Linked DNA regions of Homo sapiens: all the other regions are linked to region 6. The links are contacts of gene promoters, found by promoter capture Hi-C in human tissues and cell types (Jung and others, 2019). All regions are on one chromosome and are shown on one strand. Each heading gives the region's core, a stretch centred on a gene start or on the middle of the fragment in contact. The rest is flanking DNA. Distances are from core to core; before and after follow the strand shown. Region 1 overlaps ARHGEF17 (Rho guanine nucleotide exchange factor 17). Region 2 overlaps ARHGEF17 (Rho guanine nucleotide exchange factor 17). Region 3 overlaps FAM168A (family with sequence similarity 168 member A). Region 4 holds the start of ARHGEF17 (Rho guanine nucleotide exchange factor 17). Region 5 overlaps NUMA1 (nuclear mitotic apparatus protein 1). Region 6 holds the start of STARD10 (StAR related lipid transfer domain containing 10).

What was found. Contacts are between HindIII fragments. The study calls those that stand out against the background at their distance.
Region 1: a contact is called between a fragment that was not itself captured here and the fragment with the promoter of STARD10 in region 6, in 4 of the 25 tissues and cell types used here (H1 embryonic stem cells, liver, mesenchymal stem cells and 1 more).
Region 2: a fragment that was not itself captured here is called in contact with the fragment with the promoter of STARD10 in region 6 in 2 of the 25 tissues and cell types used here (adrenal gland and dorsolateral prefrontal cortex).
Region 3: a contact is called between a fragment that was not itself captured here and the fragment with the promoter of STARD10 in region 6, in 2 of the 25 tissues and cell types used here (heart right ventricle and lymphoblastoid cells).
Region 4: a contact is called between the fragment with the promoter of ARHGEF17 here and the fragment with the promoter of STARD10 in region 6, in 5 of the 25 tissues and cell types used here (lymphoblastoid cells, mesenchymal stem cells, mesendoderm cells and 2 more).
Region 5: a fragment that was not itself captured here is called in contact with the fragment with the promoter of STARD10 in region 6 in 2 of the 25 tissues and cell types used here (dorsolateral prefrontal cortex and pancreas).

What each region holds. Positions count from the first base shown.
Region 1 is chr11:73,326,412-73,329,267 of GRCh38, reverse strand. All of the region lies in intron 1 of ARHGEF17 (Rho guanine nucleotide exchange factor 17), which reads right to left. Among named protein-coding and RNA genes, the nearest start is that of ARHGEF17-AS1, 18 kb to the right of the region's middle. The HindIII fragment of the contact is 4,464 bases long and covers 1-2,856 here.
Region 2 is chr11:73,346,887-73,349,586 of GRCh38, reverse strand. ARHGEF17 (Rho guanine nucleotide exchange factor 17) reads right to left here. Exons shown (of 21, transcript NM_014786.4): 2 at 2,627-2,700. Among named protein-coding and RNA genes, the nearest start is that of RELT, 28 kb to the left of the region's middle. The HindIII fragment of the contact is 8,075 bases long and covers 1-2,700 here.
Region 3 is chr11:73,532,022-73,534,721 of GRCh38, reverse strand. All of the region lies in intron 1 of FAM168A (family with sequence similarity 168 member A), which reads left to right. Among named protein-coding and RNA genes, the nearest start is that of FAM168A, 65 kb to the left of the region's middle. The HindIII fragment of the contact is 5,334 bases long and covers 1-2,700 here.
Region 4 is chr11:73,306,840-73,309,547 of GRCh38, reverse strand. It overlaps ARHGEF17 (Rho guanine nucleotide exchange factor 17), which reads right to left and starts at 1,272. Exons shown (of 21, transcript NM_014786.4): 1 at 1-1,272. The coding sequence starts at 909. It overlaps ARHGEF17-AS1 (ARHGEF17 antisense RNA 1), which reads left to right and starts at 187. Exons shown (of 3, transcript NR_147696.1): 1 at 187-876; 2 at 984-1,666; 3 at 1,992-2,037. RefSeq lists enhancers at 1-277, 283-1,160 and silencers at 581-800, 1,031-1,360, 1,761-1,900. The HindIII fragment of the contact is 12,473 bases long and covers 1-2,708 here.
Region 5 is chr11:72,029,259-72,032,083 of GRCh38, reverse strand. It overlaps NUMA1 (nuclear mitotic apparatus protein 1), which reads left to right. Exons shown (of 27, transcript NM_006185.4): 4 at 2,794-2,825. Among named protein-coding and RNA genes, the nearest start is that of NUMA1-AS1, 16 kb to the right of the region's middle. The HindIII fragment of the contact is 4,468 bases long and covers 1-2,825 here.
Region 6 is chr11:72,792,668-72,795,367 of GRCh38, reverse strand. It overlaps STARD10 (StAR related lipid transfer domain containing 10), which reads left to right and starts at 1,321. Exons shown (of 7, transcript NM_006645.3): 1 at 1,321-2,493. RefSeq lists enhancers at 996-1,565, 2,697-2,700. The HindIII fragment of the contact is 19,379 bases long and covers 1-2,700 here.

The sequences.
Region 1 (2,856 bases), core at 196-2,695, 530 kb before region 6:
AGCAAGGGGCAAAGCGGTGTGCTACCATCTGTGTGCAGGAAGGGAACAGATGATGAATTTGCTGGTGTTTGCAGATAAAAGGATTCACAAAGACACTACTAGCTGGGTGGCCTGGGGTCAGGCAGGGTAGGAAATAGGCAGCCAGGTGGGAAGGAGACTTTTTATCCTTTTGGATTTTTCCTAACCATGTGAATATATCATCTATTCAAAATATTAAATATATAAATTTAATTTAAAAAATTCACCTTGCAATCAGGCCCCTGCTGCCCACTCCAGCCTCACGTCTCATCTCTGAACAGCCTTTGCACCCCTCTTCTTCCTTCTCCATCCTGCCTCTCTAGGCTCCCTCCATGACTCTCTCTCCTAGACCTTCTGGGCTCCCCTGGCCTCGGAGTATCTCTGCCCCAGCCCGGACCCTGCCCTGGTGACACAGGCCTGATGTTCCTGTCTCAGTCTGTGCCTCCTCATAGCTGGGGCACCACCTGTGTTCCCAGCCTACATACAGAGGACGAGGTTCCCACTGAATGAAGACTGCACCAGAGAACAGGGGGCACTGCCTTGGAGCCCCAAGTTTGGAGCCTTTGTCTTTGCTTTCCCTCTTCTGTTTCCACATTGGTCTCCTCTGGGACAGTTCCAGTCTCACATGTGGTGTTCCTCCAGGAAGCCCTCCCTGCCCAAATCACATTCAGACTGGGGTAGAACTGTCCAATTCCTCCTTCAAGCCAAACGCTCAACCCCTGCCTTGGGTAGAGCGACCTCAGGGCTGGGCTTTGAGCTTCAAAGTGAGTCCCCAGCCTGGAGGAAGGTCCTGGGGTCAGAAGTCACTGGGTGACTCTGGCAACCCTGCCCCTCTCTGGGCCCCCATCTGTATGGCAAGGAACACAGACCAGCTGCTCCAGAGTCAGTGATGGGCAACTTTAAAGCAAGGTGGGGATTTCTGCTAGCAAAACTCCGGCAGAGCCCCCAGCCTGCAGAGTCCCATCCCTCCTGCATAGCCCCACTCTTTTCCTTTGGACAGCTGCCCGTGGGGAACTCCAAGCCTCCCTCAGGGAGCTCAGCTCATCCCCCTACCAAAGAGGATTACCTGGGCTACTCTCAGTGACCCCATCCTCTTCTCTCCATCCCTGGGGCTCTTCCTCAGCCAGCTAGGTCACTTCCCTCCCTCCCTTCCAACTTGTTTTACGGCTTCCCACTGATCCCCAGTGGTCTGTGGTCCAGCCCAGCCACCACAGACATAATCACATCAAATTCTCACCATAACCCTATAATAGGTGCCATCATCATCATCCCCATTTTACAGGTACATAAACTGAGCCACAGAGGGACTAAGTACTAACACGTGAGTACTCAGCTTTTCCAATGAATAATTACCCAGGACTATCCACAAAACTAAGAGGAAGAGCAGGATTTGAAGAAAGCCATCTGGCTTCAGTCTGTTCTAACCATTACACTAACCCAGCTGAATGTAAGATCAAGTACTTGTCCCCCGAGAGTCTCAATGACCTGGCCCTTGCTGACTCACCAGCATCAAATTTCCCCACCTTTACCACGGTCTGGCTGCATCATGTTCTGGCCACAGTAGTTCCTCCAACCCATCGCATTGTTACACCCTGGGCCCTTTGCACATGCTGGTCTCTCTGCCAGGTGTGGCTTCCTATGTCTATGTTTGGCAACTTCCTACTCATTCTACATTTTTCGTGGCCAAAGAAGTGGGAGCTTAGGCTGTATGGTGGACCAGGCAGGCTGGTCTACTAAGCGGGGCAAGGCCTAGGTCCTGAAGGGCCTCAGACCTGCCAGCCTCAGAGCTCAGTCTTTCTCCTGCCAACACTTGTTCATACTCTTCCTTTTACACACTACAAACTCTGGGGAATTCCTTCCTGATTCTAACCTAATTCACTCATCCTACAGGAGTCAGGACGATTCCTGGACCTCTAGAGAATGTGCTCCTGCCTGTCCACTGTCAGTGTGACTGAGCTGGGCTGAGACAGGGTGCACATTCTGGGAGCGTAGCTGGTTGCCAGCTCCTACCTCCCTCAAAGGGCCTGTGTCCTTCCAGGTGTCAGCAGGGGGCAGGCAGGATTTTCCCACCACTCCAACAGTTTGTCCTTCTGATCAAGTGGGGCCCAGCCAGCTCCAGGCCCCGGGTGGGAGGTGCTGCCTGCTCATAGGAGCACCAAGGATGGGTGGTATGCTCCATCATCCTGGCTGCGTCTGGAGACCTGGCCCCCAACAGAGTTTACCCCTGCCCAGGGAGCCTGGCTGGTTGCCCTTCTGAGCCTGCAGAGACACTGAAGGGAGAGGCTTGTCTCACTCTAACGCCTCCCATCAGGGAGGGCTTCCCTCTTTCCACAACAGAGATTTCCTGACTGAGTCCTGAAAGCTCCATGGAAATACATGGCGTGAGATGTGGTCCAGGGGGCAGACATGACCCTACTTTCACTTAAATCAATGAGATCAGCCTGCTTTATACTTCTGTGTCAAGATTCCTCTAGAAGAAAAGGTTCCACTATTTTTATTTTTATTCATTTATTTATTTTTTAATTTTTTGAGACGGAGTTTCACTCTTGGTTGCCCAGGTTGGAGTGCAATGTGCAATCTCGGTGCACTGCAACCTCTACCTCCTGGGTTCAAGCGATTCTCCTGCCTCAGCCTCCCGAGTAGCTGGAATTACAGGCGTATGCCACCAGGCCCAGCTAATTTTTGTATTTCTAGTAGAGATGTGGTTTTACCATGTTGACCAGGCTGGTCTTGAACTCCTGACCTCAGGTGATCCGCCCTCCTCGGCCTCCCAACCTCGGCCTCCCAAAGTGCTGGGATTACAGCCGTGAGCTTGGAAATTACCACTCTGGGATCAAG
Region 2 (2,700 bases), core at 152-2,651, 550 kb before region 6:
TGGAGTGCAGTGGCAGGATCTCGGCTCGCTGCAACCTCTGCCTCCCGGGTTCAAGCTATTCTCCTGCCTCAGCCTCTGGAGGAGCTGGGATTACAGGTAGCCTGCCACCACACCCAGCTGATTTTTGTATTTCTAGTAGAGATGAGGTTTCACCACGTTGGCTAGGCTGGTCTTGAACTCCTGACCTCAGGTGATCCGCCTACCTCAGCCTCCCAAAGTGCTGGGATTAGAGGTGTGAGCCTCCGCGCCTGGCTCACCTTTAAGTCTTCTTGATGGGAGATAGGTAGATTAGCTACATTTTGCAGGCAAACTTGAGGCTCAGAGAAGGTGAGGTGATTAGGCTAGTATCACCCAGTGAGGACGCACGTGACTTCAACCCTGGACTGTCTGACCCTAATGCCTCCAACTCTCATCTAGGGGATGGCAAAGGACCCCCTCAGGCCCCTGCCATGTCTACTCCTCCTGCCTGGCATTCTGGCTGCATCCTCCCATGGCTTCCTTGCGTGCACAGGAAAGCCCAGCTCCATGCCCAGCAGCCTTCCTTCCTGCAGCCACCTGGCCACCTCTGGTTCCCTGCTGCTCTAGGTTCCTTCCAGCCTCCTGGCCTTTGTCCCTGACATACCCTCTGCTGGGAGCCATCCCTCCGGGCTCTTTCTGCTGAAATCTACTCACCCTTCAGGTCTCAGCTAAATACCCCAACCCCAGGGAAGCCCTCCCTGACCCCGACACCAGGGTAGGCCCCCTTCTGTGTTCTCATCTCCCCATGCACTTTTTAAAAACAATAAACAAACGCATTGTATTTTATGGTAAAATACATATAATATAAAATTTACCATTTTAAATGTACAGTTCAATGGTATTAAATACATTCATAATGTGTGACCATCCAGCTCTAAAACTCTTTTTATCCTGTAAAACTGCAACCCTGTACACCCATTAAATAGTAACTCCCCATTCCCTCCTTTCCCAGCCTGGCACCCTTTCCCTGGCACCCACCATCCTACCTTCCATCTCTGAGTCTGACTACCCCAGGAACCTCATGCAAGTGGAATCAGACAGTGCTTGTCCTTTGAGACTGGCTTCTTTCACTTGGCATCATGTCCTCCAGGCTCATCCATGTTGTAGGATGTCAGAATTTCCCTCCTTTTAAGGCGTATCCCTGTTGTGTGTAGGTTCTCTGTGTGTGCACTTCTGCATCACCACATGCCACTGTGTGTTGATGTCTGGCTGGTCACTGTCAGTCTCTGCCATAGACCGTGAGCTCCAGGAGACAGGCCCTTACCACTAATGCCCCTGCACAGAGAACACTACCTGGAGCGCAGAAGGGGCTCACCGTGGATTTGTGGAGTGAGTGAATGAATGAATGAATGGTGAGTGAGTGAATGCTCTGGATGTTTCCATAGGGTGAAGGTTCTACCTTTACCCTTTGCTGTCACTCTGCCCAGCTAGCTTGGGCAAATTCATCCTCAATGGTGACTGCCAGGCCCCACTTCAGCTCAGGTCCACACTCATCCAGCCCCAGGCCATGTGTGCATCCAGGCTGTGGGCCTTCCCAGGTTCATGTCTGAGCCTGAACTCACCACCTTGCTCCAGTTGTGCTTCTCCCCTGGGCCCCACCTATCCGAGGCCAGGAGCCCAGACATCATCTTGGGCTTCCCCACCTTGCCCCCCACAACCAACCAGTTACCACGCCTGGCCTGACCAGTCCACTTCCTGAGTGTCTGTCCCCAGCACTCCCTTCCTGTAACCTCTATCCTTGCCGGATCTCAATGGCCTTGACCTCCTCTTCTGCCACCCACCTTCCCAGCTGTCAGACAGACTTCATGAAGCATGAATCAGGCCACACACCTCCCCTGCTCAAAGCCCTTCGCTGATCATCCACGGACCCTGGCAGAATCTACTGCCTCCAACTGGTGTTCTAGGCCCCCACAGCGTGGCCTCTGCCGACTCCGACAGCATAGCTATGGGACCAGCGCGTTGTGCTCTGTGCTGGCCACGTAGACCTCCGAATGTGCCAGGCCTCACTTGGCTTTGCAATGTGCTATTCCTGCTGTTGAGAAGACAGGTCATGGTGGAAGTGAGCACCTCCTCCAGGAAACCTCCCTGACCCCACGCTTAGCAGGTGCCCCTCGATGTTTCTAGAGTGCCCGTATACTCCACTACGTACTCAGCAGGGCGGTGAGCTCCTGTGGCAGGGGCTGGGCTCTCTTATTCATTCCTGTGTCTCCTGCACCTGGAACAGGGCCTGCACACAGCAGGTGCTCAATACTGAACTCTATTCAACTCATACTTCCCAGTCAGTGAATACAATGGAGGCGGCACATCAGAGGGAGTTCACGGATCTAAGTTCAGGGTCAGGGTTGCCAGGGGGACGTGGAAGAACAGCAGGGTAGGGACGCCTGCCCTGGGGTGGCCTGGCCCCTCTGCATTCTCTCTTGCCCGGGAGAAGCCTTCCTCCTTCTCTGGAATGGCCATGCTGGGGGTTCTTCATGGAAAGGCGACGGATGCCAGGGACACGGCTCTCTGGCCTCAGTCCCTTGTCCATGAAAGGGGTTTGCTCACACCCATCTGACAGCCTCCTAGGCTCAGAAAGGCCATTCTCAGGGGAGTGGGCCCCGAGCCCCACCTGCATCAGGGTGCGCAGCGACTCCACATACGACTGCTCTGTGTCCAGCAGGGTCATGGCCACGTGCTTCCGCA
Region 3 (2,700 bases), core at 155-2,654, 740 kb before region 6:
TCTAGAAATATATGGTACTGCCGGGTGTGGTGGCTTACACCCTGTAATCCCAGCACTTTGGGAGGCTGAGGGGGCCAGATCACCTGAGGTCAGGAGTTCGAGACCAGCCTGGCCAACATGACGAAACCCCGTCTCTACTAAAAATACAAAAATTTTCCAGGCGTGGTGGTGGGCTCCTGTAATCCCAGTTACTCGGGAGGCTGAGGGAGGAGAATTGCTTGAACCCAGGAGGTGGAGGTTGCAGTGAACTGCGATCGCACCATTGCGCTCCAGCCTGGGTGACAGAGTGAGACTCCGTCTCAAAAAAAAAAAAATAAATAAATAAAAATAAAAAATGAAAGAAAGAAATACATGATACTGCCAGTTTCTGAGCCTTGTGTGGCTTCTACAGGTAAAATTGAGTTAGTTTTTGTTTTTTCCCACTGCTGACTTAGTATTCATTTTCCTTGGATCTAATAAGTCAGTTTCTGCTCATCCATCTGCTTTCTAGCTTTCAGTATTTTATGGCTATTGCTCGTCTCCATTTCTCTTTGTTTTTATGGTTTTACACTTCATTTAAAATCCAAAAGTAGGGTCTAAGGAGAGGACATTTATTCAGTTTATCAACTCTATGAAGATGTCTGTATCAGCATTTCATTCCCTGTTTGACAGGTGAAGAAATCATGTATTACCATGTTTGAAGGTAGCTATTTGCACTGGGAAGAGTATGGGCTTTTGATTCTGAGAGGCTTGGGTTTTGAATCTATTGCTTAACAAGCTGTGTGACCTTAGGGCACTTATTCATAATTCCACCAATAAATTTTTATGTCCATTAGCAAATTAGGTAGAGGCACCCACCAGATGACTAACTTACCTTGACAGTTGATGCTTTATTCATTTAAGCACTCCCCCCAAAAGTTTACTGTTTTGAGTGAATTTTCTCCCTAAAAACATTATATATTACCCTCTTCAGAATAGTCAGAACATTATTGAATCTTTCTTGAGGTTCAAGTTAATTATTTTGAACATCAGCTAGTCTGCTTTTTTATGTTACAGTAATACATTTTATACTAAATACCCTAATACTGTACTTTAAAACAAAAAAGCTAAAAGCCACTTTTTGGTGTGAATACTATGCTTTTTAGATTTTTGTGGTTGTTTTGAATTTTTTTTTTGGCCTTTTCTCCTTGCTGTTGGTGAAACACAACAGAGAATATGGTTCTCCTTTCTTACTTGGTCACTTTTCTCCTACTCTGTGTGGTGCTCCCAAATTACGGTTTATTAGATGTGTTTTCAAAGGAAGAGTAAGGCCCTAGGGACTCTACTAGTAGTAAAGTGTGAAGAATTAAAGACAGTTATTTTGGCTTTAGAGAGACCTTTTTTGCTTGCTTCCTAGTTCTCTGTGTGTTCCAGAAAGACAAGGTAATTGGGTTGCTGAATTCCACGTAAGTGACATATTATAATGAAACTTCATGATTTCTCAAATAAATTGCTTTCATCTATATTATCTCATTTTTTAAAGCTTCATAATGATTCTATAAGGTAAGTAGGGCAGGTGGGATTATCCCCATTTTATAGATTGGACAATCTGAAGTTCAGAGAATTAAATGCCTTGCTCTATCACATAATTGAGTGGTAAGCTGGGACTAATCTCAGGTTGTCTGATTCGAACCTTACTGCTCTGTCGTTTCTCTGTTCTAGCCTTTGTATATGGACTTCTACAGAGAAGGTCAAATTCTTAAGGTCAGAGAGCAATGCAGTAAGGAATACTTCTCATTTGATCCTGTAGTAGCCTGGTGGGACAGGTAGCATTTTTCCTCTTTCCCAGCTGAAAATTGAAGTTCAGAGAGATTAAATGACTTGTCCAAGTTCACCTGAAAAAATAAGGCATGACAGTGTCTGGGACTCATTCTCTTCTTTTGACTCCAACTCCTGCTCTCTGATTGCGGTGCATGATGCATCCGCCCTAAGTCAGAATGAGCTGCCAAAAGAAAAAATATGCCACCAACATTGAAATTTAGATAGCAATGGTTTGAACTGTAGTAAACAACCAAGTCCTCTTCTCTGGGAAGGTTTCAGCTGATTGGAATTCTCAGTCTATTTTCCAATTTATGTAGAGGAGGAGGATAAAGAACTGTTGTGTTTGGACTTGCAAAAAACTGATTCCTTTAGTGGAAGCTCTAAAGATATACAGTTGCATTGCTGGTTTGGCACAAAGAAATACTTAAGCTCTCAAGTACAAATATTTACTGAATTTCTAGTACAGCCTAATGTTCTAGACCCCAGGAAGGATTTGTCATGAATTGGGAAATCTTAGGGCTCCAGGATCCATTCATTCTTAGGCTTAAAGGCTGAGTTTATCCAGGCAATTCAGTAGAGCAATTTTATATACATTACTCCTGCGGTGTACTAGGAATAATAACAGGCACTGGGCAGGGGTGGGGTAGGTATATGTCCTGATAAGAATCTCATGGTTTGTTTGGAAAGAGACACACAAATAATTACATTACAGCATAATAAGTTATAATGAGAGATGTATAAAGAGCACTAAACAGATAATCATTAATTTTGCCCAGATCAAGGGTGCAGGGAATGACTGGAGAAAAGTTTACAGTGAAAGTAATACTTGGGGCCAGGCATGGTGGCTCATGCCTGTGATCTAAACACTTTGGGAGGCCAAGGAGGGTAGACTGCTTGAGTCCAGGAGCTTGAGACCAGCCT
Region 4 (2,708 bases), core at 23-2,522, 510 kb before region 6:
ATCCAATAGGGAGCTTCCAGGCCTGAGCCCGGGCCTCCCTCCCCAGCGGTGGCCGCCCTCACCGTCTCGGTCGTCGTCACTGCCCGAGGAGTGGCCGCCGTGGTAGGCCGGACTCTGGGCTCCAGGCAGCTGCGGCGGGCCCTCCTCTTCCTCCTCGCTGGAGCTGGCAGCACGACTGCGGCTGACAGGATAGGAGGCGGCGATGGAGGAGGAGGAGCAGGAGGCCCGGGCCCCGGCCTGCGGTTGGGAGAAGATATGCCAAGAATGTAAACCATCCGCTGGACGCTGCGCCCGCTCCTGTTGCTGCTGCGGCCGGCGCAGCCTCCCTTCGGTCTCCGGCCCGGTCAGGGGCCGCGCCGAACGCAGACCCGCCAGGGGGAAGCATGTCCGAGGGGGTGGCGTCGGTGGCTGCCGCGACTCCCGAGCCGGAGGCTCCCACGCGGCACCGTCGGGGCTGGGCGTTCCTGGGGATTCAGAGTCGGCGCTGGGCCTCCTGGAGCCAGGACCGCCGAAGAGCTTGCGCATCTCGGTGACGCTGGGCCAGGCTCCTCGCGCTGGGCCCTCGGCCGCTTCTTCCGCGGCCGCGGGTAAGACGCCTCCGTCTCGGGTCCCAGCGGAGCCGTCGTCCAGACGCGGCGCGTCGAAGCGCCGGGAGAGCTGGCGAACCGACGGCGAGAGGCTGCGGAGCGGGCGCGGCTGCGCGGGGGCGGCCAGGGGCCCAGACGCCAGCTTGGACACGCGCCGAGAGGGCTGGCCCCGGGCAGCCGTGGTCGGCCGGCACGAGGCGCGTCGCCTCAAGCCGGGGGTGTCCGTGTCCTCCTCCCTCAGCCCGGGGCCGCCGCTCCAGCGCTCCAGCAGCTTGAACGAGACGCTGCGGTAAAGCTGGGGCCGGGGTGCCCCGTCCGCCATAGTGGCGTAACTCACTCCGGGGGGGCTGGCCTCGGGCAGCCGCGGCCAACCCCCCCTGCGCCCCCACTCCCTAGGAGCGCAGCGGCCCACGCCGAAAGCAGCGCACGGGAGTGTGGGAAGAGGACGCAGAGACCGGAGCAGAGGTTTCTCTGCCGCGGCTCAAGTTTCTGTGGCCACCGGCCGCAACGTCTCCATCCCGGGCGGCCCCTCCCGCCTCAGCGCCGACCCCCAGGCCCAGCCCCCGCCGCGGCTGGAGCGACCAGGGGCACCGCGGCACCGCCTGGGCGGGATCCCAGCGCTTGGTTCCTCGACTCTGCGTCCGCCTGCCCAACGCCCTTGGCTGCTCGCTCCTGGCACCCTTTTGTTGCAAATAAACTTTGCGGCAGAGGCAAGGGGGCGGGGGGCGGGGCCTCGCGCCCAAAAGAGGGGGTGGGCTCCGGGCGTGCGCGAGCCTGGGAACCGCGTGGTGGGAGGGAATCAGGGAGGAGCCGAAGAAGAAAAAGCCTGCTGGAGGACTTGCAGACTGAGGCGACCCTCTGGCCCTCCAGAGAGGTCCCTCGGGAGCCCAGCAGGCCGAGCTGCCCCCAGGGAGTCGCTGAGACACACACAACCGCTGAGCGTGCTCAGCTCCGCAGACTCGCAGCCAGGGCGCCGCGTCCACCGCGGGCCACCAGCCTCCGCGCGGAAACACCTCCTGCCCAGGGGCTCCAACATGGCAACCTCGGACTCACAAACTCTCGTACACACTGACACTCAGGTGCACGCAGACGCACACTCTCTGGGCCGGGAAAGGGGTGGGACTCGGCGCCAGGGAGAGCCCGGGGAGCCGCGGGCTAACTGAAGGGTCCGTCGCGCCCTACTCCCCGCCCAGGCCACGCCTCCTCCCCTTCCCTCCCCCTCCCCGCCCGCCCTCTGCGGCGAATTTAGCTGTAGCCACGCCCTTGTCCCCCCATCTCGCTCCCAAGCGCCCCGCCCATCCCACCTCCCAGCCGCCTGTCCGGCTCCGACCGGCCCCCAACCCGCCCAGCGTTGCTCCAGAAGTCCCACCCTTCACGACCGCGCCCCCACCCCTACTTTTCCAGCTGCCACGCCTTCCACCTGCCCCTGCAGTCTGGCGGCTCTTCTCCTGGACTCTCCGCCTGGATCCCCGAGCCTTTTCTTCTTGCTCTGGAGTACGCGGCTCTTGCGCCCCCTCGCGGCGTGATTTTCCCAACGCACGGAGTCCTGGACGGATAAAGCAGCACCCATCCCCCAAAAACGGAGAGTTGTGAAAACTTCCTTTCAGTCGTTACCTAATCCCCTTAGTCTTTTTCAGACCTTCGCAAAGCGCACTGCCCCTTCTTAGGCCTTATACACAAAAGGAGCTTCGACGGGAACGCCCTCGACTTCCCACTGCCAAACCTATACTCTTACCCGCAGCTGCTTCACCTTCTTGGCAGGAAAAGTGTCGGTTGTTTCTCTGGCTTCACGCTGATCCCTCGCTTGAGCTCCCCTCCCGCCCCTGCCTCCGTCTGAGTCTCACATTGTTCTCGGTATTGGGGCATCATCCCCTTCCGCATTCCCACCTGCCTCTAGATCCCATTCATCCTCCCGGCCCAACTAACGAATGAACGAACGAATGAAAATGTATGGAGTACCTATAATGTATGGGCAATATTATTTAACTTATTTTTTAAAATCCACAAACCACCCTTGGGGACAAATATTATTACCCCTTCTCTGTGGACCGTGAAGGAGAAGTAACTTTGACCACTATGCAAGTCAGGAAATAGCAGCTCCTGCTAAAATTCAGATTTCAG
Region 5 (2,825 bases), core at 148-2,647, 760 kb after region 6:
ACTCAAGCAATCCTCTGCCTCCCACCTTAGCCTCCTGAGTAGCTAGGACCACAGGCATGCACCACCATGCTGGGCTATTTTTCCTTTCTCTCTCTTTTTTTTTTTTTTTTTAATTTTTTGGGGAAAGGGTCTTGCTATGTTGCCTAGGCTGATCTCAAACTCCTGGCCTCAAGCGATTCTCCCTCCTCGTCCTCCCAAAGCACTGGGATTACAGGCATGAGCCACCACACCTAGCCTAAATGTTGTATTTATTTATTTATTTATTTTTTTGAGACAGGGTCTCAATCCGTTGGCCAGGCTAGAGTGCAGTGGTGTGATCATAGCTCGCTGTAGCCTTGACCTCCCAGGCTCAAGCGATCTTCCCACGTCAGCCTCCCGAGTAGCAGGGACTACGCGAGCATACAGGCGCAAGCCACCTCACCCAGCTAAAAATTTTTTTAAATTATTATTTTGTAGAGCCAGGGTCTCCTTATGTTGCCCAGGCTGGTCTTGAACTCCTGGCCTCAAGCAGTCCTTCCACCTCAGCCTCCCCAAGTGCTGGGATTACAGGCATGGGCCACTGCGCCTGGCCTAAAAGTTGTTTTTAAATGTGAAAGTGTTTAACTCAAATAAATACTATCATGTCTGTAGAGAAATCATTGATTTTTAAAAATCCTCTTAATTCTATAGTGCATGCAGCTAACTTAACTATTAAGAAATACAAATGTTATGTCTACTTCATTATTTTAATTTTATTAACCATAATAGTGCTTTATGTTTATTAGTTTTTCTTTTTTCTTTTTTTTTTTGAGATGTCTCTGTTGCCCAGGCCACAGTGCAGGGACACTATCATAGCTCATTGTAACTTCTCCAGCTCCTGGGCTCAAATGATCCACCTACCTCAGCCTCTTATGTAGGTAGGACTTACAGGCACATGTCACCATGTCCAGCTTGCTTGCTTGCTTATTTATTTATTTAGTAGAGACAAGGTATTGTTATGTTGCCCAGGGTGGTCCTAAACTCCCAGCCTCAAGCAGTCCCCCTACCTCAGCCTCCCAAAGTGCTGGGATTACAGGTGTGAGCCACTGCACCTGGCCTACTTTATATTTTTTAATGTGTTCTTGCATCCATAATCCCATTTGAGCTCACACTGGTCCTTTGAAGTAGATAAAGTAGGGATTCCATCCATTTGGCAAGGGAGGAAACTAGTGCAGAGAGAAATAAAGTTTGTAACAAAGGTTGCTGGCAAGTTTGTGGAGGAGCTGGGCCCAAAGTGTGTATGTACTGGCTCCCAGCCCAAATATAGAGAACACATTTGTAAGCAATAGAATCTAGTTGTCTGCACATAACCACTATGCTGAAGTTCTTTAAAATACCTTGTTTCTTAAAGCAGGCTCAGTCTCTCTCCCCTCTTAGTGTTGAATATGTGAATAATTAACTTAGCAAACCCTTTCTTCCTATAGTAATAAAAACGTAAACTTCAGCCCAGGCTACTTCTGAACTGTAGTGCCTGTGGAATTCATGAGGTTTTCCTGTAGAGGTTGACCATGTATACTTATTGAATAACCTGTGTACCTGATGTGTGTGACCCCTGGTGAATATTCTAGTGGTAAAAACTGATTTAAATGTATGCCTATCTGAAGCCAAAGAATGGGAACAGGCAACTAAATTAGAATTAAGAAGTTTTTCTTTGAAATTCCCAGCTCCTATTCTTTCATCCCCCACCGCCCCCTTTTTTTTTCTTTTCTTTTCTTTTTTTTTTTCCTTTGGAGACAGGGTCTTGCTCTGTCACTCAGGCTAGAGTACAGTGATGCAATCCCAGCTCACTGCAGCCTCGACCTCCCTGGGCTAAGGTGATCCTCCCACCTCAGCCTTCTAAGTAGCTGGGACTACAGGTATGTGCCACCACTCCTGGCTAATTTTTTGTATTTTTTGTAGGACAGGGTTTCACCATGTTGCCCAGGTTGGTCTTGAACTCCTGAGCTCAAGTGATCTTCCCGCCTCAGCCTCCCAAAGTGCTAGGATTACAGGTGTGAGCCACCGCGCTTGGCTCCCTCCACCCCCTTTTTAAAAAATCATCTTGTTCCCCTATTGTTTTTCCCTTCTCCCCTCAGCCAAAGCTTTATGTGTGGAAAGAATAAAAATGTATTAATAAGATTTTATATCTTTGTGGGAGTGTATAGCATATATGTAATATTTAAGTTTTGAATAGATATTTCAAAACTCAAGAGCCACAAAGGGCTATAATATAAAATGTATTAATAAGATTTTATATGTTTGTGGGAGTGTATAGCATATATGTAATATTTAAGTTTTGAATAGATATTTCAAAACTCAAGAGCCACAAAGGACTATAATATAAAAATCCAAGGGATACAGAAACTTATAATGTAAACGTTCAAGAAATACAAAGAGCTATAATACATTCAAGAGCTACAGAGAGTTATAATGTAAGAGCCTTTCTTTTCCCACCTCAGACTCCCTGCTGTCAAGTTCCTCTCTTTAGAAGCAGTGGTAGTACCAATTTATTGGTGTATCCTTCCAAAATACTCCCAGTGCTGGAACATCTTAGGAAAGTTTAAGCTTTTATTTAGTTGAAGCCAAAGGAAGGGCTCTCTGATGGTTGCATTTCAGGTGGCTGTAACTGGATGAGTGAGTGCAACGGCACTCCTTCCTGAAATTAAAAACCTGAGAATCATCAGTTCTTGTATTCCTATAGTCTACAACTGTAAGCACTCACATTAAGCCTCTGGGAAAAGGAGCAAACCATGTTGCTTCTAACGGTCTCACTAGGCTGTTCCCTTTGATTTACAGGTGAACAGTCTACACGTGGCTGACCCTGTGGA
Region 6 (2,700 bases), core at 72-2,571:
TTTTGAGACGGAGTCTCGCTCAGTCGCCCAGGCTGGAATGCAGTGGTGCGATCTCGGCTCACTGCAACCTCCACCTCCCAGGTTCATGCCATTCTCCTGCCTCAGCCTCCCGAGTAGCTGGGACTACAGGCGCCCGCCACCACACCCAGCTAATTTTTTTGTATTTTTAGTAGAGACGGGGTTTCACCATGTTAGCCAGGATGGTCTCAATCTTCTGACCTCGTGATCCGCCCGTCTTGGCCTCCCAAAGTGCTGGGATTACAGGCGTGAGCCACCACTCCCGGCCTAGGCTGGTTTATGACTCACAGGGTCTGTATTTCACAATAATCATACATATTCAGCAGGTTTTGGGGAAAAGCTATACATATTTATGAGGGGATGTGAGTGCATGCACAATGGGTAAACACCTGTAACATATGTTCCATGTTCACTTTGGGATGGGGTTTTTGCGTTAAAGTGAGGTGGAATTTGGTTCTTTGCATCATAAGGTGGACTATAGGACACAAACACAGTTTGCGTGCAGTCTCTATGAGCTTGCTGAAACTGGCCTGAGGTCTGCAGTTACTTATCAGGAAAGAATGTTTGTAAGGCCTGTCCTCTGTCGATCAGCGTTGTAGTGGTCTGAGTTGTAAATCTCAGTAAAGAAGAGTCTGACAATTTGCATGATAGCTCCTATTGCTAGGGGTTTAGTAAGAGTGTGGTTTTTCTGGCAGCAGTAGAAATTTAAGAAGTTGCCATGCCAGCTGACAGCTGAGCCCTGAGGTAGGCAACGTTTGTTTCCTTAACCTTAACCTTAAGGTCCATCGTAGTTGATAAAAAGGCATCTGGCCAGGCCTGATGGCTCACGCCTATAATCCCAGCACTTTGGGAGGGTGAGGCGGGAGGCCAGCAGTTCTGGGGCCACTGCACTCCAGCCTGACAGACAGAGACCCTGTCTCAAAAAATAAATAAATAAAAAAGATAAAGGGGCATTTGTCTTGATCGCTCAGATCACACAACTAATAAGTAGCATTCTTTCTAAAAGCCGCAACAATGCTACTCCTCTCTTATAAGAGCTACTGTGTAACTCCTGCCCAACTCAAACCCACAGGCCCAGGCTCAGAACACTTGGCTCCATTGCTTCACTGTTTCCCTGCTAGCACGAACCCCCCAAACTCCATCTCCCAACATGCCGCGGGCCCCCTTTCTGTCAGCCTGACTCTTGAGCTCCTGAGAAATGTAGTTTTTCCAGCGGCCCAGCCCCAGAAAGGTCCTAGCCAAGAACTACAGTTCCCATGTGGCAATGCGCGCGCCATTCCGGTGGAATTCACCGCGGTCTCCAGTTTGCCATGATGGATGCCAGAACCTGCACGTGGGGCTTGGTGACGCGATGACTGAGATGCTGGAGTCCCCGGTCAGAAGGACGATGCCGAGCGCGCCGTATTTTCTCCTGCCTCTCCTCAGATCGCCGCCGTTGTTGGGCTGTGGAGACGTCTCAACCAAAGTGGAGCCGACAGAGGCCCCGGGAGCCGTGGTGACAGAGCGGCCACAACCACTAGGGGGCGGGAGGCAGAGCGGCCCCTAGTCCGCCCCTAGTCCGGGACCTCTGGGCGGTCCCGGGCGGGAAGCGCACGCGCAAACGCGGGGCTTCGCGGCCGCTGTAAACACCAAAGAGCGCCTGCGCAAGCCGAGAGTCTCGGGATCGACACGTGGGGGCGCCTGAGCGAAGATAACCGTAATAAATAGTAACCTAACGGTCCAGTCATCGTTCTGTGGTCCTTTCTTTTATGATTCACAAGGAATGACCCTCTTCATCGCCTCTCCTAATTCAGTCCTCACAACAGTCCTTTTACAAATGGGACAACAGGTTAGAGGAAGTCAGGCAGATTTCCAGCATCATAGAGAGTAAAGGACCAGGGAAGGATCAGGATTCAAGGACTGCACCCAGGCTCTGCTTCCAGCTTGCTGTGTGACTTTGGGTAATTTTGTTCCCTTAGGGAACTGAGCTTTCTCATTTGTAAATGCAAACAGGCTGTTGGGAGGATCAAATGAGATCCAGGGGTGAAAACAGCTTAGTTTACTTTCAGGAATTTACCCACGCGGTATATAAAGGCAAAATATTATTATAGTCAGGTGATTGTAGATTGAGGAACCCATTTCCTCATTCTGCAAATTGCAAACCTGAGGGCCCAAAGAGGGACAGGGGCTTGCCCCAGGTCTCAGCAGGCTGTGAGCAAGAGCTAAAGCCTAATCCTCCTGCCTTTGGGCCTGGAGCCCTTCCTTGTACCCCAGGGGTCAGTGTCTTTGTTGGATACAGGCTTAGATTGACTGACTGTACCCTGAGAACCTAGGGGAGTCCCTGTTCCCAATTCTTCTCCTACCCCCACCTTGGCCTGATGGAGGAAGACCCTGCTGTGTTGAGATGAGCACCAGAGCCAAGAAGCTGAGGAGGATCTGGAGAATTCTGGAGGAAGAGGAGAGTGTTGCTGGAGCTGTACAGACCCTGCTTCTCAGGTCAGTGGCCCAAGTAAGGGAAAGAACCCAGGTGTGACAGATGAGGGGGCAGCACTAAGGGGACAGACTCTGAATGGAAAGGAGTGGGAAGGCAGTGGACACTGTTTCTGAGCTTGGGAGGAATTGGGTACTCAGGTAACTCCATCTGGGGGCAGTGGAGCTGGAGGTGATACCTGGGCTGGCCTGGCTGATGAGAAGGGGAAGTGA